4 separate regions of the Homo sapiens genome follow, and all the other regions are linked to region 3. Evidence: promoter capture Hi-C in human tissues and cell types (Jung and others, 2019). All regions are on one chromosome and are shown on one strand. The core of a region is centred on a gene start or on the middle of the fragment in contact, and the rest is flanking DNA. Distances in the headings are between cores, read along the strand shown. Region 1 has its middle 76 kb from the start of NHSL1. Region 2 has its middle 11 kb from the start of ARFGEF3. Region 3 holds the start of HEBP2 (heme binding protein 2). Region 4 overlaps ARFGEF3 (ARFGEF family member 3).

What was found. Contacts are between HindIII fragments. The study calls those that stand out against the background at their distance.
Region 1: a fragment that was not itself captured here is called in contact with the fragment with the promoter of HEBP2 in region 3 in 1 of the 25 tissues and cell types used here (pancreas).
Region 2: a contact is called between a fragment that was not itself captured here and the fragment with the promoter of HEBP2 in region 3, in 1 of the 25 tissues and cell types used here (dorsolateral prefrontal cortex).
Region 4: a fragment that was not itself captured here is called in contact with the fragment with the promoter of HEBP2 in region 3 in 1 of the 25 tissues and cell types used here (aorta).

Annotation. Positions count from the first base shown.
Region 1 is chr6:138,572,683-138,579,297 of GRCh38, reverse strand. It overlaps a transcript of NHSL1 not described here. Among named protein-coding and RNA genes, the nearest start is that of NHSL1, 76 kb to the right of the region's middle. RefSeq lists enhancers at 2,116-2,616, 6,395-6,615. The HindIII fragment of the contact is 3,932 bases long and covers 641-4,572 here.
Region 2 is chr6:138,147,343-138,154,041 of GRCh38, reverse strand. No RefSeq gene overlaps it. Among named protein-coding and RNA genes, the nearest start is that of ARFGEF3, 11 kb to the left of the region's middle. The HindIII fragment of the contact is 4,449 bases long and covers 1-3,732 here.
Region 3 is chr6:138,399,272-138,405,968 of GRCh38, reverse strand. HEBP2 (heme binding protein 2) reads right to left here and starts at 1,746. Exons shown (of 4, transcript NM_014320.3): 1 at 1,372-1,746; 2 at 689-824. The coding sequence starts at 1,473. It also overlaps the pseudogene MARCKSL1P2. RefSeq lists enhancers at 1,490-2,010, 2,532-3,052 and silencers at 1,281-2,130, 2,261-2,330. The HindIII fragment of the contact is 23,421 bases long and covers 1-6,697 here.
Region 4 is chr6:138,172,510-138,178,736 of GRCh38, reverse strand. All of the region lies in intron 2 of ARFGEF3 (ARFGEF family member 3), which reads right to left. Among named protein-coding and RNA genes, the nearest start is that of ARFGEF3, 14 kb to the right of the region's middle. RefSeq lists an enhancer at 3,029-3,198. The HindIII fragment of the contact is 5,909 bases long and covers 1-4,230 here.

The DNA of each region.
Region 1 (6,615 bases), core at 1,357-3,856, 170 kb before region 3:
TCCATTTTTTTCACCCTGTCAACCAACATTGGCTAAATGCTGGCTGTGTATAAGGCATTATAAGGCAGGGGTCCCCAAACCCCAGGCTGTGGCCTATTAGGAACCAGGCGGCTCAGCAGGAGGGGAGCTGTGGGCAAGCGAGCATTGCTGCCTGAGCTTCACCTCCTGTCAGACAGGCAGCGGCATTAGATTCTCATAGGAGTGCGAACCCTGTTGTGAGCCATGCATGCCAGGGATCTAGGTTGCACACTGCTTATGAGAATCTCATGCTGCTGATGAGCTGAGGTGGAAGTTTCATCCTGAAACCACTCCCTACCCTGCTGTCCATGGAAAAATGGTCCTCCATGAAACTGGTCCCTGGTGCCAGAAAGGCTGGGGACCACTGCTGTAAGGGACAGGAAGATGACAGATGAGCTTCCTGGCCTCAGGGGCATTATAGTCTAGCACTGTGCTAACTTAAATACAGTCTGTGCACTAGCATCACTTGGGCGCTTCTAGGAGTTCAGAATTGCAGTCCCTTCCCCAGACCTGAATCACACTCTGCATTTCAATAAGATCTCCTATGATTTTAAGTGCTTAATACAATTTACAAAAAAAAAGAAAAACTGGTTGAGTAGATTAAAAAAAATAATAACCACAGTGATCACTGGAGAGGCTACAGGAAAGGTATCAAGAACAAAGGAAGTCATGATTTTTAAAAAAGTTATTTATTTGGAATTTTATTTTGATCTCAGAATAAGTTTGCCCTTGGTCTTCTTATATTAGAAGAATCTCAAAGTTGATGCTGTTTTAGGATTTCTTGTAATCTGAACTCCTTAGGTTGGGGACATTTTCTTGGTGAAAGTTGGTACAGATGTTGCATTTTTGGTTATGTACTGCTTACCAAGCCTCTGACGTCCATGTTCTGTGTCAGTGGCGGCTTCTTTACCAGCGACATCCTTTGTCCCCTTGCACCTTAGGGGACTGAGAGCAATAATCTGCCATATTGCTTCTGTATCAAGTGATCCCATGGGGACAGTGCAGCTAAGGCTTAGGATGTCAGATCTGTTCGCCCTTTTCAGGCATGAAGACTTTGAAAGGTGGGAGTTGGGCTGGTGGTGATACATATGCATAAATGTTTGTGTTGAGTCTTTCCCTTTGAGGGGAACAACACTATTAATTCCGTTGAAGGCACTGTGGCTTTTAAAGCCAGGGTTTAATGAGAAGTCAGTGCTTTTCCTTCTTTTAAGTTTTAAAGCAGTGGTAGTTGAGGGCAACCTGAAAACGGGGCCGGCGCTGATTAGGTAATTAGCTGCGTTTTGCCTTCCATGACTTCTTTCTAGAGTACAATCACTTGTTTCATTCCTTGGTGGGTGGAAAGGTGGATAAAGGAAGAAGGATTTAATGTACTATGGGGAATGTGTTTGCTGTGGTCCTGGGGGTAATACCGTTTGGTTGTTTTGTTTTTTTAATTATAAATATCTGGCTCAAAGTATTTACTTTTGATATTGAGATAAGCTTTCATTATTCGTGTGTACAAATTACCTCATAGAAAGATTTCCATTTAAGTGTACTCTTAAATTATTCACAGGAGATGACAGTTGGAAAACCTACTGTACGCTGTCCTAAGCTAAAGGTCCCTGTGGGTTGTCTGGGTGATTCATGTGGTAATCTGATGAGAGGCACACTTCACTGCTCCCAGCCCAGGCAGGGCCACTTCAGAACGTGACACCATTGAGAGTAGTCCTCTTCTGTGCTCTATGTGGTTCTCTTTGCACCTTTGTCTCTTTTCACATGCCTTCTGTTTATGCACCTCACTCCCAGCCAAACCAGCCAACCCCAGCGGCGCTTGCAATCCAGCCGTGTTTTCCCATTGATTTCTAACTTCAGGGTGCTGCCTCTCTTGTTCTCTTTGCTAGGTTTGACAGGGCAGGCAAGCTACACATGGAAATGAAAAGTCACAGTGCTCATTTGTGGCCTGTGAGGCCAAAAAACTGATGGCACTTGAAATTAGTTCCTATTTTTGGCTGGCATTTTACACAGATGGCGAGTAGAGCAATTACATGCCTGGTTGCGTTGAAAGGTTTGTCTAATCCTATATCCTGTCCTCTTTAACACTTTTTATTAAGTCTCCAACTTTCATTTATGATAAACTCCTTTTTCAGGATGCCAGTATATGCTGAAACATAAAATATTGTGTCTTATGGCAAGAACCTTCCAAATATATTCAGTCTATTCCTTTGACTCTTGGTAGAAGCATAGATAAATCTTTCCAAATTCATGGGCATTTGACTTAGGAATTCCCAAAGGAGATGATTCTAGAACTTCCTCTAGTAATTTATTCTGGTGCCTCCAGTTTTTATAGTTAAATTTTCCTTAATGTATTATGTAAATCATTTCTGAAATATATAGAGTAATATAGAGTAATTTCTTGTCCCTTTGTCAGCAGTGATGGGTAAGTGACCCTCAAATGTGGAGAACTAAGTATAAAAGATGCAATTGATCATAAACATGGTGTAAAGATCCACCTGGGGGTCATTATGCAGGGTCTGCTCCTCCAGCCATTTCAGCCATTTCAACCCTGGGGCTTCCGTCCCGCTGGTGAAGGAGGGGGGTGCTGGCCAAAGGCAGCTGCGACAAAGCCCTTCCACAGAGGCTCTGCCTTTTATTCCGTGAGCCCTCATTAACTCCCATTAAACATGTAATTTAAACAAGCCTGTTTATGTGATTCCTAAGGCCTGAAGCTCAGCAGTGGCAAAGTGGTAGGAAGGGAGCAGTTATTGGCACATGTGATGACAGCAGAAGTTCGAATTTGACAGCCTGACAGTGAGAGGGGAGGGGGCAGCCCAGCACGGTAAGGAAGGCAGATAAAATCTGTTCAGCACGTCTGTCTCACATGGGGACAAGGCAGTCTAATGTAGGTTTTCTTGGAGAAAAATAGCTACGTTAAGATGTTTTCATTACTTTGAAGATTATAGCTGAAGTTATTTTTTTTAAAAACCAATTACTGTAAAAGTAGGATTTGCAGGCGGGGAGCGGTGGGTCATGCTTGTAATCCCAGCACTTTGGGAGGCTGAGGCGGGCAGATCACCTGACATCAGGAGTTTGAGATCAGACTGGCCAACATGGCAAAACCCTGTCTCTGCTAAAAATACAAAAATTAGCCAGGCGTGGAGATGCGCGCCTGTAGTTCCAGCTACTTGGGAGGCTGAGGAAAGAGAATCGCTTAAACCCGGGAGGCGAAGGTTGCAATGAGACAAGATCGCGCCACTGCGCTCTGGCCTGAGTGACAGAGTGAGACTCTGCCTCAAAATAAATAAATAAATAAATAAATAAATAAATAAATAAATAAATAAATGTAGGGATTTTTCCACGGCAGGGTTATTGTGAAGGTTAGCAATAATATACAGGAAGCTTTTGGCACAAAGTAGCCTTGGCCCTGCTGCCAGGAGGGGCTGATTTGTATGGCTCTTGGGTTGATAATCCACATAACTAAAATGTGGGGTTCATCGTGGTTGCTAAACAAATATAGCTTGAGTGAATATAGTAGCTTCTTAAGAAGCCCACTTAGGATGTTCTAAGCTAATTAGAGTATATATCTAATATGCATAGTTAAGATCTAATTATTACCTACAAAGCTGATTTAAACCATTATATTCTCTTGATCAACAGGAACTCTGATCCAGTTGTAAAAGTAGTTAATTTATTTGACTTTCTTAGATAAATGAAGATTTAATAATCAAGGCCCAATATAACAGAAATATGGACTAGCCAGTAGACAGAGAATTGGTTATTATACAAACGTATCCCTAGGTCTTATGATTTGTGGGTGCACAGTTTCTGGAAATCTGGCAGACGTGGGCACTTACTTTGACGGAGAGTCATGAGTCTAGTCCCTGAATGGACTAGTTATCATTTTGGCTGCTTGGCAGGAAATGTTCCTTTAGCTTCTCCTGTTAACCCTTTCCTTGAAGTGTACAGGGTTGGGGGCCCTGGAGGAAAACACGCCAGTTACTAATGATACCAATTCACCTTTGCTGCTGTGTGTATGCACATTCCATGGAGGGGGAGTTGAGGAAAGCGCTCAACAGCACTTCTGGTAAATAAAAAATAGCACTTGGACCAGGCACGGTGGCTCATGTCTGTAATCCCAGCACTTTGGGAGGCCGAGGCAGACAGATCACCTGAGGTTGGGAGTTCGAGACCAGCCTGACCAACATGGAGAAACCCCGTCTCTACTAAAAATACAAAATTAGCTGGGTGTGGTGGCATATGCCTGTAATCCTAGCTACTCGGGAGGCTGAGGGAGGAGAATCACTTGAACCCGAGAGGCAGAGGTTGTGATGAGCTGAGATTGCGCCATTGCACTCCAGCCTGGGCAACAAGAGGGAAACTCCGTCTCCAAAAAAAGAAGAACACACAAGGTTTAAGCATATATATAATTTTTTATTTTTATTTATTTCTTTTGAGATAGGGTCTCACTCTATTGCCCAGGCTGGAGTGCAGTGGTGCAACCACAGCTCACTGAAGCCTCGATTTCCTGGGCTCAAGCGATCCTCCCACCTCAGCCTCCTGAGTAGCTGGGACCACAGGCAAGTACCACCATGCCTGACTTAACTTTTTTTCTTTTCTTTTTTTTTTTTTTTGCATTATTTGTAGACACAGAGTTTTGCCATGTTTCCCAGGCCGAGCTTGAACTCCTAAGCTCAAACGATTCATCTACCTTGGCCTCCCAAAGTGCTGGGATTACAGACGTAAGCCACCGTGCCCAGCCAGATATTTTTAAATTAAAAATGCAGCTGCAGGATGTAGAGAGTAGGGAGAAGAGAATTGTGTTCATTGTTTGGGTTCCATGGCTCCTTTGAGTGTGCACAGATGTGTGGCGGGGGTCTCGTGAACCAGTGAAATGGCAAACAGCATTTGGGGCATTAATGGATTTCTCTGGTGAGATGGTCTTTTTTTACTTTTCCTTTTATATTTTGAGACTCTCAAAAAGTGTTTTCTACTCAGAAAGAAGAGAGTGGATGTTTGATGTTAGCCACTGGTGTTATGCACAACTATTTTAACTTTGCCTTTATAATGGTAGTCATCTGGGTGCGGTGGCTCACGCCTGTAATCCCAGCACCTTGGGAGGCCAAGGCAGGCGGATCACAAAGTCAGGGGATCGAGACCATCCTGGCTAACACGGTGAAACCCTGTCTCTACTAAAAATACAAAAACAAAATTAGCCAGGCGTGGTGGCAGGCGCCTGTGGTCCCAGCTACTCGGGAGGCTGAGTCAGGAGAATGGTGTGAACCCGGGAGGCAGAGCTTGCATCATGCCACTGCACTCCAGCCTGGGCGACAGAGTGAGACTCTGTCTCAAAAAAAAGAAAATAAAATAATGGTAGTCAAAGTGGAGATATTATTGCAATTAATAACTGAAACAGGCCCAGAGCACTTGGTGATGTAGCAAGCATCCCTGGTAAGTGTGTGAATCTCTGATCCAAGTGGTGTCGGCTGCAGCCTGGTCCTCATTACTGACTTCTCTGTGTGACATTGGGTATGAACATACTTTCTCTGGGCCTGAGTTTTCCTATCTGAAAATCATGGAGTTTAAACTACGTGATCTCAAGGACTCTTTTAGCTTTTAAACTGAGGCTGCTTTGTAGCTTCTGCCTTAGTAATACCTGTTCTCTGTCATTATTTACATGGTGTAATATGAACTGCCTATCTTAGTAACACTTTGTAGAACTTCTGACTATCTTCTACAAGTGTTCCTGTCCCAGTAAGCTTGTAGAGCCTTCTTCTTAAAATCTCAGTGAATTGGAGTAGATGTATGATGCAAAATTCTGGTTTTAAAATTTTTAATCAGTTTATTTTCTATTGCAGTTTGTTAATTTTAATGTATCTGATCGATGCTGAGTAAAGCAAAGTGCTACAGACCTAGTTCTCTACTCGTTGCTTATTTGCCTTACCCCAAATAACGCTTGGGAGAAGGAGATGCCGACCCAAGTCTCTATGATGGAAAGTTGCAGGGACTTTTAACACCCCTAGGACCGTGGAATTGTAGTAAGTTAGCCTTGGGTGAAATGCTACACCCAAATGCATTGCAAGCTGTGGCTCTAGATAGTTTGCAGAGGAGGCTCAGGGCTAGAGCCTGCAGCTAAGTGCCACTAGCGTAGCTCTCTGATGACTCTTTGTGATAGGATGATCATTCAAGGTTGGAGAGGAATAACCCCCAGGGGCTCCCAGTGATACGGCAGAGGAGGATCCAGCCCCACACTCTGGCTGCTGGTGACAGGCAGGAGTGACAGTAACAGGTACAATGATGGCTGCGTTTCACCTTTGTTGGAAGCTGGGAGTGAATAGCCGGGTCCGTTATATTCTCTTTGGAAATATACTTCCTTAAATGATGGACATTCCTAAATCCATCTAGGAATGTTGGATGTATCTATCTATCTATCTATCTATCTATCTATCTATCTATCTACTGTATTAAGCCCCTTCTCAAAATTGTAGTTTCAGAAGTATGGTTTGATAATTCATAATCAAGTTCTTTTTCTTTATGCCCAGAAGTCTGTATTCTGCACAGACTTGCATACCCCTAGCTGCGCTAAAGTTCAGAAGTTTGAGCTGCCACTGAAGTATTGACTGT
Region 2 (6,699 bases), core at 259-2,758, 250 kb after region 3:
GCCTGCCACCTGCTTGTTAATAAAATTTAAATGTTTTGATAGCCATATCTGTATATGTAGACGTATATGTATTTGTACATATGGTAACTTTTATATAAATGATGTAAATGGTCTTATACATTCTGCTTCCTTTCACTCTATGGTTTGTCACAGGCAATTTTTCCTTTTAAATGGCTGCTTATTATTCTGTTGTATAACTCTAGAAAACTATTTAATCCATCTATATTGTTGGATTCCAGCTTTTACTATTATAAACAAGACTTCAGTAAACATTGCTGTGGTTATTGTATTACCTACCTATTAGAATATATTCCTAGAGTAAACTCCTAGAAGGGGGAAGTGCTGAGTCAAAAAGGATGCACGCTATGAGGCCACATTACCAAAACCAGACAAGGACACAACAAAAAAGAAAACTACAGGCCAATATCCTTGATGAACACATGTGCAAAAACCCTCCATGTAATACTAGCAAACCAAATCCAACAGCACATCAAAAAGATTATATATCATGATCAAGTGGGATTTATCCCAGTCATGCAAGGATGGTTCAACATATGCAAATGATTGTGTGATACATCACATTAACAGAATGAAGAACAAAATCCATATGATCACTTCAATAGATGCAGAAAAAATATTTGATAAAATTCAACATTCCTTCATGATAAAAACTCTTAACAAATTAGGTATAGAAGAAACATACCTCAATAAAACAAGGGCCATAAATTACAAACCCACAGCTAACATCACATTGAATGGGGGAAAACTTGAAAGCTTTTCCTCTAAGAACTGGAACAAGACAAGGATGCCCATTTTCACCACTTTTATTCAACATGGTACTAGAAATCCTAGCTAGAGCAATTAGGCCAGAGAAAGAAATAAACAGCATCCAAATTGAAAAAGAAGTCAGATTATCACTATTTGCAAATAACATGATTTTATATATAAAAATACCTAAATACTTTACAAAAAAACTTTCAGAACTGATAAATGAATTCAACAAATTTGCAGAATACAAAACAAACATACAATAATCAATAGCACTCTTGTACACTAATAATAAACTAGCTGAAAAAGAAATCAAGAAAGCAACCCCCTTTACAATAGCTGCCAAAAATATTTAAATACCTAGGAATAAATTTAACCAAGGAGGCATAAGATCTTTACAATAAAATCTGTAAAACACTGATTAAAGAAATTGATGAAGACACAAACAAATGGAAAGACATCCCATGTTCATAGATTGGAAGAATGGATATTGTCAAAGTGACCATATTACCCAGAACAATCTACAGATTTAATGCAATCTCTATCAAGATACAAATGATATTCTTTGAAGAAATAGAAAAAAATTCTGAAATTTGTATAGAACCACAAAAGACTCACAATAGCCAAAACAATGCTGACCAAAAAGAACAAAACTGGAGGCATCATGCTACCTGATTCAAAACATATTACAAAGCTGTAGTAACCAAAACAGCATAGCACTGGTATAAAAACACACACATAGACCAATGGAACAAAATAGAGAACCCAGAAATAAATCCAGATATTCACAGCCAACTGATTTTTGACAAAGGTTCCAAGAACACACACTGGGGAAAGCACATCCTCTTTAATGAATGGTGCTGGGAAAACAGAATATCCATATGAAGAAGAATGAAACTAGATCCCTGTTTCTCCACTTGATCTTAGCCAAAAGGCTGAGAAGCAATTAGATCCCTATTTCTCACCATATACGTAAATCAACTCAAAATGGATTAAAGACTTAAATGTAAAACTCAAAACTGTAAAACTACTAGAAGATAACATAGAGGAAACGATTTGGGCAAAGATTTTATGGGTAAGACTTCAAAAGCATAGTCAACAAATGCAAAAATATACAAATGGGATTATATAAAACTAAAAAGCTTCCGCATAGCAAAGGAAACAACTAACAGAGTGAAGAGACAACCTGTGGAATGGGAGAAGATATTTGCAAACTATTCATCTGACAAGAGATTCAGAATATATGAGAAACTCAACAGCAGAAAAAGATCTGATTTAAAAAAATGGGCAAACAACCTGAATAGACATTTTTCAAAAGAAGACACACAAATGGCCACCAAGTCTATAAAAAAAGAAACCCAATATTAGTAATCATTAGGGAAATGCAAATCAAACCACAGTACGATATCATATCACCCTCGTTAGAATAGCTATTATCAAAAAGACAAAAAGTGAGGATGCAGAGAAATGGAAACTCATCTACTGTTGGTGGTATTGTAAATTAGTACAGCCATTATGGAAAACAACATAGAGGTTCCTCAGAAAACTAAAATTAGAACTACCATATGATCCAGTATTCCCAGTACTGGGTATTTATCAAAATGAAAGGATTATTGCAGCACTATTGTGGCTAAGATATGGAATCAATGTAAGTGTTCATCAATGGATGAATGGATAAAGAAAATGTGATATATGTAGAAAACAAAATACGATTCACCCATAAACAAGAATGAAATCCTATCATTCTTGGCAACACAAATGAGACTAGAGGACATTATGTTAAGTGAAATAAGTTAGGCACAGAAAGATAAACACGGCATGTTCTCACACATATGTGGGAGCTAAAAAAGTTGAGCTCATAGGAATATAGAGTAGAATTGTGATTACTAGAGGGTGAGGGGATAGGGAACATGTGGTTAAGGGTTACAAAATTACAGCTAGATAGAAGGAATAAGTTCCAGTGTTCTATAGCACTGTGGGGTGACTGACTATAGTTAGCAGTAATTTATTTTATATTTTCACATAGCTAGAAGAGAGGATTTTAAATGTTCCCAACACAAAGACATGATAAATATTTGAGGTGACGAATATGCAAGTTACCATGATTTGATCATTACACACTGCATACGTGTATCAAAATATCACTCTGTACCCCATAAATATGTATAATTATTACATGTCAGTTAGAACATTTTAAGAGAATTCTAAGTGATAAAAAGGATTGTGCTATAGTTTGACATTTTTTTCTTCCATAGTAGTACATAGAATAATGATACATCTTATGATCAATGCTATGTTAGGTTTGTTGAAGTATCGATTATTAATAATTGAATATAGAAAGACTGCTTACATTCTTAAAGCTTATTTTGTTTTGTTTTTAATAGAATAAACTCATGAAATAAGAAAAAAAGTTTACATGGTTAAAGGGTTTGGCAACATACTGTCAGACTCAGCTCAAGGAACATCAATGTTTGCGTCTACCAACAGTGCACAGAGAGCCTGTATTCTCTCTTCAGCATCACCATGTACTGAAGATCTTTTTCCCCTTGGCCAGTTTATTGGTCGAAAAAAATATATTTAATTTTTGTTTTAGTTCATAACTAAACCTAAAAGATGAAGTTGAACATCTTATTTTTATTGTTTATTCTCTGACTGTTTATGTCCTTGGCCCATTAAAAAATCAGATAGCTCTTTTATCAGTTTATAAGAACTATATGTATATTACGGATAGTAACTTTTGTCATATAAATGTTGCAATTTTTTGTCATTTTTAAAAAACTTTGTCATGACTGTCTACATAGAAATGTTAAATTCTGTGTGTGTGTGTGTGTGTGTGTGTGTGTGCGTGTGTCTCAATTATGTGGCAGAATGCTCTTTATTAAATTGCTTTTTATTATTGCTAGCAGTAATCCTCTAGAAAACCATAAAAGAACATGAACTTCTTCACAGACGTGAAAGTAAAGGAGCTGGGAGATTGTGATCTACTTAGCAGTAACTTAGGCAGAAGAAAACATGGATACAGCTATAGATAATGACATTGGAAACATAAGAATATAAACCTGTGAAAGAAGAGGGAGGGAATAACTGAGGATATGACTCAGAAAAGTCACCTCAGAGGTTTTATGCTGACAAGAAATTCTCATTCTTTAGAATGCTCCGTACTTCATCCCCATTCATTCCCCAGGTTTTCCCTTCTTAAAGACTCCACAATAGGCCACAGGAACTTCCATAAATAATTTGGAACAGGGAGAATCTCCAGTTCTGATATTATGTACACAGTAAAGGGAGATATATTCTTAGAGTTCCAATTTGAAGTGAAGAATAAATTCTCCCATAGGCACGTTATTCACGGAGATTAGTTTGATTACATAGATTCTTACTGTGCATAAAGGCAAGTATACAGGTAATTACAAGTTGCTCTCCATTCTCAGGCATTTGAATGCCCTTCTCATTTTGGAGAAATTCCTAGAAAAGTTCGAGAAAGAGCCCTATATCATACTATGGCATATGTTTTCCTTCTTCTTCTTCTTCTTTTTCCTTTGGCAGTTAGAAAAGCCTGTGACTTAAGCTTGGCCAAGCAAATGTGCCCATTTGGGACTCTGATTCTGTACCAAATGCCTAAAGAAAAAAAAAGGGAGAAAGAGACATAAGTCCTGGATAAGAATGCTCCCAGAATAGAAGAATCACCACTTCTATTCAATACTGTATTGGCTAAAATTCTTAGCCAGCACAATGAAACAAGAAAAAGGTACAAGAATTAGGAAAGGAATAAATGAAACAGTCATTTACAGATGATGTAATTTCAACATGGAAAAATCAAAATAATCTGCAGATAAATGGAATCTACAGGTAAAATATCAGATTCCATGAGTTCAACAAGATTTCTAGATGTAATATCAATATAAAAAGAAAAGTGCATTTCTATTCAACAGTAGAAAGTGTTTTAATAGTATAAAATAATATAAAGCACCCAGGAATAAATGTAAGAAAAATGTGCAGGTCCCTGGTGCAGAATTACTAAAGTTTTTATTGAGGAACTTTAAGGAGGTCCAAGTATATGGAGAGACATATACAGCTCAATAGAGAAATGGGTAAAAGATATGAACAGTTATCTCATAGAAGTGCAAATGTGTTTGGCTTATAAACATAGGAAAACACCCAAACTTGGTAGTAATCAGGGAAACCTAACTTAAGACCACACTGAGCTACTCTGTTGCACCCACTAGCTTGACAAAGATAATAAAGTTGGATACTACCCGATGTTGATGGAGATGTGGGAACGTGAAAAAAGTCATCAGTGCTGGTGGGAATATAATTATTACAGCCATTTTGGAAAATAATTTGCTGTCACCTAGTAAAGTTAAATATTCACATTCCTTATTACTTAGAAATTCTACTTTTGGCTGGATGCAGTGGCTCATGCCTGTAATCCCACCACTTTGGGAGGCCAAGGTGGGTGGATCACGAGGTCAAGAGATCGAGACCATTCTGGCCAACATGGTAAAACCCCATCTCTACTAAGAATACAAAAATTAGCTGAGCATGGTGGCACACGCCTGTAGTCCCAGCTACTTGAGAGGCTGAGGCAGGAGAATCCCCTGAACCCAGGAGGTGGAGGTTGCAGTGAGCCAAGATCGCACCATTGCCCTCCAGCCTGGCAACAGAGTGAGACTCCGTCTCAAAAAAAAAAAAAAAAAAAAAAGAAAAGAAAAGAAATTCTACTTTCACTATAGACCTCAATGAATTATTTAATATGTACACCAGGAGGTGTGTGTATATAATTAGCAGCATTGTTGACTGGGAAAAAAAAAAAAAACTCCTTACTTCATTAACAGTAGACAGGATAAAGTAGTTCTGGTATATTAATACAATAAAGCAGTGGATGTGAACAAACAGTAGCTATTTCACACCAACATTGAAAATACATAGTGAGCAGAAAGCATGTTACAGAGGAATGCATACAGTGTGATTTTATTTATATAAAGTACAAAAACAGGCAAAAGTAACAATGCTAGGGACACAAATCTGTGATAAAACTATAAAGAAAAGCAAATCCAGGGATTGGCCACAGTGGCTCATGACTGTGATCTCAGCACTTTGGGAGGTTGAGGTGGGAGGATCACTTGAGCCCAGGAGTTAAAGACCAAGCTGGGCAACATAGGGAGACCCCCATCGCTGCTGGAAAAAAAAAAACAACATTAGCCGAGCATGGTGGCAGGTGCCTGTGGTCCCAGCTACTTGGAAGGCTGAGGTGGGAGGATCGCTTGAGCCCAAGAGGAGGTCGAGGCTGCTGTGAGCCATGATCACACCATTGCACTCCAGCCTGGGTGACAAGAATGAGACTTTGTCACACACACACACACACACACACACACACACACAATAGCGCAAATCCAGAAAACTTAGTTACCCACGCGATGAGGGCAATGAGGGGAAAATAATGAGAAGAATGCTAAAGGGCTTCAGAAGAATAGCTTAGCAGTAGTTACAGAAGTGCTCACTATGCTTTAAACTGTACCTAAATGTTAAATCCCCTCATTATTTATTTTTATTTTATTTTTTTGAGACAGTGTCTCACCCTGTTACCCAGGCTGGAGTGCAATGGCTCGATCTCAGCTCACTGCAACCTCCACCTCCCGTGTTCAAGCGATTCTCCTGCCTCATCCCCGTGAATAGCTGGGATTACAGACGTGTGCCCCCACGCCCAGCTAATTTTTTTTTTTTTTTTTGAAACAGAGTCTCGCTCTGTCGCCCAGGCTGGAGTGCAATGGCACGATCTCAGCTCACTGCAACCTCCTCTTCCTGGGTTCAAGCAAATCTCCTGTCTCAGCCTCCCGAGTAGCTGGGACTACAGGGGCCCACCATCGCGCGGGTAATTTTTGTCTTTTTAGTAGAGACAGGGTTTCACCATGTTGCCCAGGCTGGTCTCAA
Region 3 (6,697 bases), core at 497-2,996:
GTGACATAAAAATGAAAGCAAATTTAGTGTATTTTTGACAGCTTTAAACATTTAACCTATTCTTTTTTGATCTGGGTTCCTTGATTTACTTCACATTGTTGACATATTTACCTTTAAGATAATTTTCATCTTAAAACAGTAAGGCCAAAATTACTCAATTGCTCACTGCCCACATTAAACCACTTTCTGTAATACTGATATTCTGGGTTAATAAATTCTTAATTTTTAGAGATAAAAGGGGAAATTAGAGATTACATGGTCAGTAAATTATTTTTTCTTACCATTCAGAAAATGAGGTCCCACAGGCTAAGAGACCTGCTAAAATATAAATAGCAGCAAAGCCAGACCAAAAGCTATGACTTGATGCTTCTAATCTTGGTACCTTCTTGCCTCCTGACGTCTCTGATCCTACCAGTCACCAAATTATCTTGAGGTGTTAGCCATAGAAAAGGACTTATCACGAGTTACACCAAACCCCAGTTCATCCAGCAAAATCAGAGAACAGAGGTTGAAAAGTAATACCCAGTGTAACCCTGGTCCTGAGGAGTCTTGTCTGAAAACAAGACAAGTCTTTGATGACTTGCTTATTTTTCCATTATAAAGGATATTTCTTTAATAAGCTAAAACTCAATAATAAGCCCGGGGACTCTTTCACAATATGCATAATTACAAGGAAAACTGCTTTTACCTTTCTCGTTTTTGCCTTGAATGTAGCTGTTCAGTTTCGTAAAGCCCGTCTGGATGGCTGAATCCCAGTCCATAGACTCCACGGACGTGCTGACCCACTTGGCTGGTCCATAGTGTCGGATCTCATAACTTCCGGGCTAAAGTGGAACAGAGAAAACTTCGAGAAGCAATTCTAAGAGGGTAGGAGTGAGATGCAAAAATACCGGTGCCATGATCTCGGGTCGACCTGGAGCCGTCCTGTCTAGGGGCTGCACCGCCCCGGGGTCCGGCCTGAGGTCCCCGCTCCTTAGGTCTGGGAGGTTCCCCTCCACGAGGTTCCCCTCCTTGCGATTAGGGACCGCAGCGGCCCCAACCCCACACGCTGGGGACTCGATTCACACTTTCAGACAAGCATCTATTACACCCCCTCGGTTCGGAGGGTTCCACCGCGCGTTCTGGGACGTAACCAGTTCCTCCCCGCCCCACCACCCCGCAAAGACAAGAAATTGAGATGGGACCTGCACTGGGGGTAGCGGGGAGGGTAGAGCTAAATGACCGGGGTTTCTCGTTTGCGTAGCATAGTGGGTAGGGACTGGGACCATTTAAAAAACTGTACTTTTTACTTAACTCTATGGGACCCGCTGGCCTCACTGCAAATCAGCCGGAAGGCGGGCCCAGCCCCTCCGCTCCCGAGTCGGCGCCTACCTGGGGGCCGGCGTCCTCCGGGGCCTTCCAGCCCGGCGTCTCCACAGCTTGGGCCGCCGCGTCCTCGGCCGCCCCGGGGTCTGGCTGGAGCGGCTCGGCCATGGGCGGCGCTGACGCTCTGGGAGCCTGGTCAGCCGCGCAGAGGCCCCGCACCCCGGGCCGCCCCGCCTGCGTGTGCGCGCCCCGCCGAGGCCCCGAGTCCCCGCTCCGCAGACCCGGTCCCTCCTCCCGGCCGGGCTGGAGACCCGAGCCCACCCGATGCGTCTGCCTCTGGACCGCGAGGGGGCGCCGCCACCAAGGCGGGGCCGGCTCACGACCCCGGACAGCTCCGGCCGGAGTTGCGCGTCCTGCCCCCGCCCCTCCGCGGCGACAGGGAGCCGCACCTCGCTTCGGCCCGCCTTCTTTTGAGGCACTTCCGCCCCCGCCCCGCCTTTGTTTTTGAAGGAAAGGCACACACAGGTGGCCCCGCGGGCAGTAGGGGGTGGCGCTGTTTCTGTGCAACCGGTTTGGGAACCTCTGCCGCGGCCCCGCCCGCGCTGGGAACCGCGGGCGCTGAGCCGCCTCGAGGGTGTCCCAGCGCACCGCAGGCAGAGAAAGGCAGGAGGTGGCGGCTGGCGACCCGACCCCCGCGGCCCCTGCCCGCACTCCTGGGGCTCAGCCAGGGCGAATGGCCGTACTCATCCCAAGAAGTTGTCCTAGGTCCCAGACAGCTTTCAGGGTCCCTTGCGGAGGAGGTGGTGGGACCACAGACACATGGAGAGAATCTGGAACTGTTCTGGTTTCTGAACTTTTCCCCGACAGGACCCCAGACCCTCTGAGTCATCCCCGCAGGCTTAACGAGACTCGGGGAGAGTTAGTGCCGAGGCCAGACACTAGTGCTTTTCAAGAATTTTGGTTACCAGGGCTTTCCCGAGCCGAGTGGGGTGCGGCTCTGTTCCCCAGCACCCCCTTTCCGCCGGCCAGGCCGACTCCGCGTTACTGTCCCCTGCGGCGGGGACCCGGCACGGCTCCGGCGCCCCCCAGAGGACTCCCATCGTGGGCAGCCAGAGCTCCGAGGCTCTCCGGGGCGACGTGACCGCCGCAGAGGCAGCAGGCACTCCCCACGCGAAAGCCAACGGACAGGAGGGTGGCCACGTGAAAAGCAATGGTGACATCCCCCAAGGGTGAAGGGGAGTAGGCCCCTGTGAACAGAAGAGGCAGCCGGGACCATTGGCAATGCCATGGAGCCAGCACCCCCTAGCCAGGGTGCTGAGGCCAAAGGGGAGGCTCCCTCCCTCGCAAGGAGACTTCCAAGAAGACGAAATTGCCTTTCAAGGCCAGGCACGGTGGCTCACGCCTGTAATCCCTTCATTTTGGGAGGCCAAGACAGGGGTGATCGCTTGAGCCCAGGAGTTCGAGACCAGACTGGGCAACATGGCGAAAACCCGTCTCTACAAAAATACAATAAAATAGCGTTGATAGTAGAGTGGAGAGCATAGCTGCCTTCCAAAAAAAAAAAAAAAAAAAAAAAAGCTGAGTGTGCTGGGGTTGTGATCTCAGCTACTCGGGAGGCTGAGGTGGGAGGATCGGCTTGAGCCTGGGGAGGTCGAAGCTGCAGTGAGCCGAGATTGCGCCACTGCACTCTAGCTTGGGTAACAGAGTGATACCCTGTCTAAAATAAATAAATAAATAAATAAATAAATAAATAAATAAATAAATAAATAATTATCTTTCAAGAAGGGTTTCTAAGAGCAGCTTGTCCTTCAAGAGAAATGGGAAGGAGGGTGGGGTGACTCTTCTGCCTCCTCACCTATGGAGGAAGAACAGGAGTGGGGGAAGATCAATGCCTGCAGCGACAAGGGCGCTGCCCAGGAAGGGAAGGCTGTTGCCACCCCTGAGAGCCAGGAGCCCCAGGCCAAGGGCGCAGAGGCAGTACTGCCTCAGAAGAAGAGGCAGGGCCCCAAGCTACAGAGCTGTCCACTCCCTCGGGGCGGAGAGTGGCCCTACACCAGCCCACGCTGAGCAGAATGAGTAGCTGGGTGGGCCAGGTGGGTGATCTCTAAGCTGCAAAAACTGCTGTTCTTGTGAGGTTACTGCCTGGACCTGGTGCCCTGGCTGCCCTCCTGTGCCCAGAAAGGAAGGGGCTATTGCATCCTACCAGCTACATTCCCTTTCCTTCTCTCCCTCCTGTGGATTCTCCAATCGGCCATGTGGCTTTCCTCGTAAGGCCAGTTGAAGACGGTCCCCCACAGCCTCCCAAGTTAGATTAGTGATATGAAATGTGCCTTTCCCTGGCCCTGCCTCCTTCCCTGTCCCCAGCCCTGCAGAAGGCAATTTTTGGTTTTCTTCCCCAATTCTTTTCCAAGTAGGTTTTGTTTACCCTACTCCCCAAATCCCTGAGCCAGAAGTTGGGTGCTTAAACTCCCAAACCTCGAGGGTCCGGCCTCCCCGCTGTTGAGTTTTTACTCTGGTGCTGTGCCTAGTGGCACCTGGGCCGGGCAGGGGGGCACTGCCCTGCCTAGGGTTCTATTCAAGTTCCAACCTTCAGCTTGTGAATCAACTGTGTCTCTTTTTTGACTCGGTAAGCACATGTTAGGCTTTGGGGCCAGGGAGAGGTCTGTAATGTGAAATAACTTCTTCTTGCCTTTTCTTCTCTCATTTTTATGAATAACTTTTAATGGCCAAACCCCAGATTTGTATTCTTTTTTTTTCTAACTGCTACAACCATTCTCTTCCACCTGGTTTTATTATAACAATTGGAAAAGGAATAAATATCCCTTAAATTTTTTTTTGTTAGATGTATTCTTTATTTTTTCCAAGAGATTTATTAAGATATAATTCATATACCATATAGTTCACCCATTTAAAGTGTACTAGTCAATGGTTTTTAGGATCTTTAGATCTGGGCAACCATCATCACAAGGACTGGGCAACCATCATCACAAGGTGAGAACATTTTCATCACTTCCCACCCTTAAAGAAACTCTATAACCTTTAGCCACCACCTCCCAATTCCCCATTCCCTATGCCTAGACAACTACTAATTTGTTCTCTGTCTCTATAGTTTTGTCTATTTGGAACATTTCATATGAATGGACTCATAATAGTACGTGGTCCTTTGTGACTGGTTTCTTTAACTTGGCAAAGTGTTTTCGAGGTTCATCTGTGTTGTGGCAGGTACTCCATTTCTTTTTATAGCTGATTAATAGTCCATTGGATAAACATTTTATCAACTTATCAGATGAGGGACATTTGGGCCATTTTCAACTTTTGGCTATTATAAATAAAGCTGCTCTACATGTTTATGTACATGTTTCTGTGTGCATGTATGTTTTCATGTCTCTTGGGTAAACATCTAGGAGTAGAAGTTCTGGGTCAAATGGTAACTCTATGTTTAACTTTCTGAGAAACTGCCAGACTGTTTTTTCGCCACTTCACATTCTCACTAACAAGGTGTGAGCATTCTATTTCTCCACATCCCCATCAACACGTGTTTTTATCTGGCTTTTGGATTATAATCATCCTAGTGGGTGTATGCTATGGTTTGAATGTTCATCTCTTCAGAAACTCATGTTGAAACTGAATCCCCAATAGGGCAGTATTGAAAGATGGGGCCTTAAGAGGTGATTGAGTGATGAGGGCTCTGAAATTAATCCATTCATGGGTTAATGGGTTAATGGATTATTGGGTTAGCACGAGAATGGGACTTGTGGTTTTATAAGAGGAAGAAGAGAGACCTGTGCTAGCACACTGAGCCCCGTCACCATGTAATGCTCTGTGCTGTCACGGAACTCTGAAGAGAGTCCCCACCAGCAGGAAGGCCCTCACCAGATGTGGCCCCTTGACCTTGAACTTCCCAACCTCCATAACCATAGGAAATAAATTCTTTTTATTTATAAATTACCCAGATTCAGATTTTCTGTTATCAGCAATAGAAAATAGACTAAAACAGTGCACCTGGTGCTTTAAAATATTTTTTGAGATATGATTCACATAGCATCAGTCACTATTTTAAAGTGTACAATTCAGTGGTTTTTAGTATATTCACTGTGTTGTACAAACATCATGACTACTATCTAATTCTAATTATAGAACATTCCGTCAGTCCAAACAGAAACTCCATGTAGCTTAGCAGTCACTCTTCATCTCCCTTGCCCCAACCCCTTGCAGCCACTAACCTACTTTCTGTCTCTATGGATTTGCCTCTTCTGGATATTTCGTACAAATGGAATCATGTATTATAATATGTGATATTTAGGCCAGGTGTTGTCACTCACGCCTGTAATTCCAGCACTTTGGGAGGCCGAGGAGGGCGGATCACCCGAGGTTGGGAGTTCGAGACCAGCCTGACCAACATGGAGAAACCCCATCTCTACTAAAAATACAAAATTAGCCAGGTGTGGTGGCGGACGCCTGTAGTCCCAGTTACTTGGGAGGCTGAAGCAGGAGAATCGCTTGAACCCGGGAGGCAGAGATTGCAGTGAGCCAAGATCCCGCCATTGCACTCCAGCCTGGGCAACAGGAGTGAAACTCTGTCTCAAAACAAACAAACAAACCAACAAAAGTAATATGCGATATTTTGTGACTGGCTGCTTGCTCTTAGTGTAATGTTTTCATCTATGTTGTAGCATGTACCAGTACTTAATTTTTTTTTAATTGCCAGAAATACCCCATTGTATGGGCCTAGTGCTTCTAAAGCAATTGATGTCTTCTCTTTTCCTTGCCCTTTCCTGCCCCAACAACTGTGCAGTGGCCTGAGGACTCATGGCACTTTCTAGTGGTTCTGTCAGATCTATTATTATGCAGAACTAAGTTCGATTTACTTAGTAAAGGCTAAATAATGAATTTTTAACTTATTTTAAAAAATAGCTTGTTTCGTTTAACTAGGTAACAGATGTGATCCATTGCTTAGGTGACTTTGCAAAGTTGAAAATATAACTTTATCACAGGTTTTTTTTAAAAAAAGAAAAAGGATGTAATTTACTTCATTGCTTAAGAAATCTGTTATTTTAATCTATAGAGTATCTTTTACATTTATCAATGTCTTTTTTGGAGGGCAATATTTTATTTGCAGAAAATCTAAGGCTAAATTTGGAGACGTTTATTTTTCAGGGTTTGGAGTATGCAATTAGTGAAGGTAACAGAGGTGACTACACTGCATTATCTGTATTTACAAGGCAGTAACTAGTCATATAAAAGAACAGAGGAAGGAAAGAAAGGGATTTATTTCAAAATAATAGGATTTCAGTTTAGAACAAGTTTAATAAAGTTTAGTAAAGTTTAATAAACTTTAAATTATTTAAATTATTTAAAGTTAATAAACTTCATTCAAGTTTTATATTGTTAT
Region 4 (6,227 bases), core at 27-2,526, 230 kb after region 3:
TGAAGGCAGTGGCTTTCTGGGACATGTGATGTAAAGCTGGAGAAGCAGTTTCATCCCACAAACATTTATAAGGCACTGACATAAGAGATACAAAGATGAGTAATTTGTCTAGATGAGCTCCTTGAGGCTAGGGTCTGAGAATAGAACCTGCAAACAACTGCCAACGTGGTTGATGAGCTTCACGACAGGATTATGTAAGAAGAACGGTGAGGACACAAGGGAGAGAAATATAATTTCTACCTAGGAAATTAAGGAAGGACTTCAGGACATCTCAGCACAGTCTTCAAGGATAAGTAGGATAAGGAAGTGAGAAAGGCTGCATGTTATAAGACACACACTGGGCAATTTTGATGAAGAGAGCAGCCCAGAACATGTTCCCCTAACATTTTAGTGCTCAACATGCAGGGGAGCTATCGGGCTACTTATTCAAACACCTCTAGACCTGTGGTTTTGGTCTTGGCTTTGGCATGTGGAAGGAAGAGGAGCCATGACAAGTATGCTATATTTCATTATATGAGATGGCCTAGGACATAAGAATGGTGAGGATTAGGGAATGCCTTCAGTAAAACCCTAGCCGACCAACATCATAGTCACATCTTCGAGAGAAAAAGTCCCCCTGCCCAACAAAAACAAATTCAGAAAGAGGAAGCTACCCTTGCTCCAAATGCATTTAAATCAACACAAAGATAAAGGAAGCATACAAAAGTAAGGTAATGTGACACCCTCAAAAGAACACAGTAATTCTCCGCCAATAAATCCTAACCAAAAAGATATCCTTGAAATGTCAGATAAAAAATTCAAAATATTTATTTTAAACACGCTCAATGAGATGCAAGAAAAATCTGAAAACGAATATAAGGAAATCAGAAAATCAATTCATGATATGAATGAAAAATTTACCAAGGAGATAGACATCTTAAAAATATTCTGGAACTGAAAAATTCATTGAAGGAATTACAAAATATATTCAAAAGCTTCAGTAATAGACTAGACCAAGCAGAAGAAGGAATCTCAGAACTTGAAGGCAGGTCTTTTGAAATAATACAGTGAGGCAAAATATAAGGAAAAAAGAATGAACAAAGCCTTTGAGATATTTGGGACTATATAAAGCAATCAAACTTACAAATTATCAGTATTCCTGAGGGAAGAGAAAGACCAAAGATCTCTTTAAGGAAATAATTGATGAAAATTTCCCAAGTCTGGCAAGAAATTTGGACAGATCCTCCAGATACAGGAGGCCCAGCAATTCCCAGAAAAATGCATTGCAAAAAGGACTTCACTGCAGCATATTATAATTAGACTGTCTAAAGTAAAAGTGAGCCAGGTGCAGTAGCTCATGCCTGTAATCCCAGCATTTTGGGAAGCTGAGGCAGGTGAATCACTTGAGTCAAGGAGTCTGAGACCAGCCTGGGCAACATGATGAAACCCAATCTCTACCAAAACAAACAAATAAACAAACAAACAAACAAAAAATACAGAAATTAGCTGGGTGTGGTGACATATGCCTGTAGTCCTAGCTACAGGGAGGCTGAGGTGGGAGGATTGCTTGAATCTGGGAGGCAGAGGTTGCAGTGAGCTGAGATTGCTCCACTGCACTCCAGCCTGGGTGACAGAGCATGACCGTGTCTCAAAAAAAATATAAATAAATAAATAAATAAATAAATAAATAAATAAATAAAGTAAAAGTGAAAGAATTTTAAAATCAGCAAGAGAAAAGCATCTAGTCACCTATAAAGAAAACCCCATTAGACTAACAGTGGATTTCTCAGCAGAAACCTCTTAGATAGAAGAAAATTGAATGACATTTTCAAAATGCTGAAAAACAAAGAAAAGAAAATGTCGACCAAGAATTTTATATCCAGAAAGAATAAGCTTCATAAATGAAGGAGAAATAAATTCTTTCCCAGACAAGCAAATGCTAAGAGAATTTATCATCCCTAGACTGGCCTACCAGCAATGCTCAAAGGAGTCTTAAACATGGAAATAAAAGGCTGATATTCACCATTATGAAAACACAAAAGCTCACAGGTCTTATAAAGCAATCAAAGGATTAAGAGAAGAGAAAGGAATGAATGGCAACAAGAGAGAATTCCACCAAACCACAGAGACAGAGAAAAAGAAAAAAACAAAGAATCTAAATGACAACGTGACAGGAACAAAACCTCACATACCAATATTAACCTTGAATGTAAATGCATTAAATGCTCCACTTAAAATATATAGATTGTCATAAAGGATTTAAAAAAGATCCAACTAGGCTGGGTGCAGTGGCTCAGGCCTGTAATCCCAGCACTTTGGGAGGCCGAGGCGGGTGGATCACGAGGTCAGGCATTCGAGACCAGCCTGGCCAATATGGTGAAACTCCGTCTCTACTAAAAACACAAAAATTGGCCGGGTGTGGTGGCGCTGTGCCTGTAGTCCCAGCTATTTGGGAGGCTGAGGCAGGAGAATCACTTGAACTCAGGAGGTGGAGGTTGCAGTGAGCTGAGATTGCACCACTGCACTTCAGCCTGGGTGACACAGCAAGACTCCGTCTAAAAAAAAAAAAAAAAAAATCCAACTACCAACTATACGCTGCTTATAAGAAACTCACTTTACTTGTAGAGACATGTGTAGACTGAAAGTACAGAGGTGGGAAAAGATATTCCATGCAAACGGAAATCAAAAGTAAGCAGGAATCACTATACTTATGTCAGATAAAACAGACTTTAAATCAAAAACAATAAAGACAAAGAAGGTCATTATATAATGATAAAGGGATCAATTCAACAAGAGACTATAACAATTTTAATATATATGTACCCAACACTGGAGCACCCAGATTCATAAAACAAATATTACTGGACCTAAAGAAAGAGATAGACACCAATACAATAATAGTAGGGGACTTCAACATCCCACTCACAGCATTAGACACGTTGTCAGGACAGAAAATCAACAAAGAGACATTGGACTTAAGTTGGACTTTAAGCCAAATGGACCTAACAGACATTTACACAATATTCTACTCAACAACTGCAGAATATTCTAATTGTTCTTGATCGGTAGCCTCCAAGTCTTATGATATTACTTGGTTGAAAAACCAGTGGATAGCTATGATGGAATCAGTGACTATCAGTGGCAACTGTACTTGGTCATATTTTTCACCAAATCTGTCACTATTAGGGAACATCCTGAGTGGGCTTTTGCTTATGAAGCAAAAAGGACATGGGGAGGATGATTCTAATCTAAGACATAACCTGAGCTATCGATGGCTTCTTCGGTGTAGGGATACCTGAGTAGCCCACTAATTCATAGATTTATTCAACCCTGCAAAGATGCATGTAAGGAGACCTTGAAGTTTAAGAAAAGGGAAAAGAGAAGCAAAGATAGCAAGGGTGCAGTCTCCTCATGGAGGAAGATAAGGACCCTTAAAACTCACCCCCAAATCAAAAGCAAGACTAAGGGCAGGAAGGTGGAAAGATTTTCACATGACTAGCCACTAATAAAGTCATGAAATATTCCATAGTACATATTCCCTGGACCTGCCTCCCTCCCTGGCATTGAATATCAATAGGCTCTGCATTAATTCCTACCCTTGTTGCTCACCACATCAACAATAAGAGTGAGCATTTCATCAGTGACAGAGCCTTGAGCACAAATAAGTAATGTCTCTTGACCTCCTTAATTCCATCTAATATGTTTGATCATCAATATCTCTCTTAGAATGCTTTATGCATAACTGAATCCAGTCACCAGTCACTTAAATCATTCAAAAGTCCTTAGAGCAATCAATGGCAAAAGGAAAAATAATACAACATAGGTCTCTCAAGGATTCAATTTCAACACAGGCTCTTCAAGGGTTCTTCTGATTTAAGCTACCACTACTAACGTACACAACTGACCAAAACAATATTAGTAATTATGAGAATGGGACTATATTTAACATGAAATTAACAAATAAGTGGCAAAAGAAAAAAATAGGAAAAAGCAGAGCAAAGGTATTCAAGATTATGAATGATCCCTGTAGCCCTTTCCAAAACAAACAATTTTAAAAATCTGCAAATAATCACCTGGAGGTGATTATGTAACAGAAATGAAAACTAAATCTGAATTCAAAATCAGAAGAATGCAAGAGATAGTTTATAAACTTGGTTTCTTTCCCATATATTAAATGTAAGCATAATGGAAGAAAAAATAACATATCCAAATTCTCCTCAATGAGCAGACAAATATTTACAGTGCCTGGATTTTTTTTTTTTTTTTTTTTTTTTTTTTTTTTTTTTTTAGCAGATGCTCAAATAGAAGGATGCCATGTTAAACATAATGATTTAACAGAGTAAATGCTCTCCTGGTTTAAAGTGCCTGGAAGAGGAATCAAAGGATTAAAGAAGGACTGATTTACAACACAGGGGGAAAAGCCCATTACTGTATGTCTCCTCTTTATATCATTTCCCTAATGATAACATGGAATAGTAAATCAGACTAGTATTGATTCAATCTCTTTTCTGCTCTAATTATGGCTTCTTCTTGTATCTTAGAAGAGGCTTTGAGAAGTTCCCCACTATTGTGAATCACAAACTGAAACCTCCTTAAATGTATAAAAGTCTATAATAAATTTACATTTGCTACCACATCACAATGTTTTCTGTTTTGTATATCTTCATTCTCTTCCTTCCAAATTGTTTTTAAAAAAACACCTTTGAATGCAAGGCTCACATCTGCTGTGTCTCATTCATATGGTTCAATTCTCTGTACAAGAATGCTTGATAGATCTCATTGTGCATCTGAAACATAATAATGTCCATTCTTTTGAATAGTAAGATGATGTATCTTTGTACATTAGGATAATCTTTGTCATTAGGGGAAATACTCTGAGTTGAATTTCTAATAATGGTGAAAATATGTAAAGACATGTACATATGCGTATATTCATCCATAGTCTCTCATCTGGCACCCCTCCCACCAATGTTGTGAACAGCTCCTGTAGGTGCACAAGATAGGTAGCTGGCTCTGGGGTAAAGCAAAAGATCGTTGAATAAAATAAAGCCAAATGAGTAAAAGGAGAACCAAAAATATGTCCTTGGACACATTGAAACCATATTCTCTCCAGCTCTTCTAGCCACACACATACACATGAACACTAGACAAAGAAGGTCATTATATAATGATAAAGGGATCAATTAAGCAAGAGACTATAACAATTCTAAATATATGTATGCGCCCAACAATTTTAAACATTCCCAGCCAGTGGAGCAGAAACCTCTTCTGTTGCTCCTCACACTGAACCACATACCTTTTATCACAAACCCAGAACCACAGAAAACCTCACTGCTAAGTTAAACAACACTTTGGATGAGGAAACAACCTTTAGAGCAGAGTTTATCAAACTCTTTTACTTATGTAGTCACTAAGAAAATGTTAAGATTCTGTTTTTCTCGTACTTTAAGTTAGCATTCAAATTTTTTCATCATAATTTTAATTGTGAAGGCTGTAATTCTGGAATACTTGAATTATTAAAATTTTTAATTAAAACATATCACTTTTGAAATGTATCTTGTGAATACGACAGCAAGTTGAAAAACACCTTCATCCATCAAAAAAAAAGGTGAACTCTTCTTTAACAGTAAAATAATGCTGTATTGTTATTTTTCTCCTTGAACTTATTGTATTTCCATTCCATTTTCCCCAAACATTTTTCTCCAATATATTTTAATGCTAGAAAGGCTTTTATTAACCTCCCTACTATACTTCTCTGTTAAGATAAAGTATGTTTAAAGTAATTTTTAAAATATTTCCTGTAACCATAAGGCTTTAAAATGTTCAATTGTAAGCAATCATTACTAATGCACAAAATTGGTCCAAAGAACATTAATAATTATTTATCAAAATGTCAATATGGTTAGCATGGAAAATACACTTTTATTAAAAATACATTTCTACAGAAATGGAGTTTGTTTATATTTCTCCCAGTTAGTTCATATGCCTATGAAGAAGTATTTTCTGTTGCTATATAATAAGGTAGAATTTAGCACCAATTCCATATCAATTCTTTTTTACCTTTATAGTTGTAAGCAGTAAGACACCTTGTTTACATAAATAATAAGGGAATGAAGGAGACATCATCAAAAACATATTTTCATCTATCATCTTATAGCTCCTTCAATATTGCTGAAAGCCAAGAAGTTAAAACTACATAACTTGAAAAATGATATGTTTCCCGGTCCTTATAATCACTCCCTTTACCA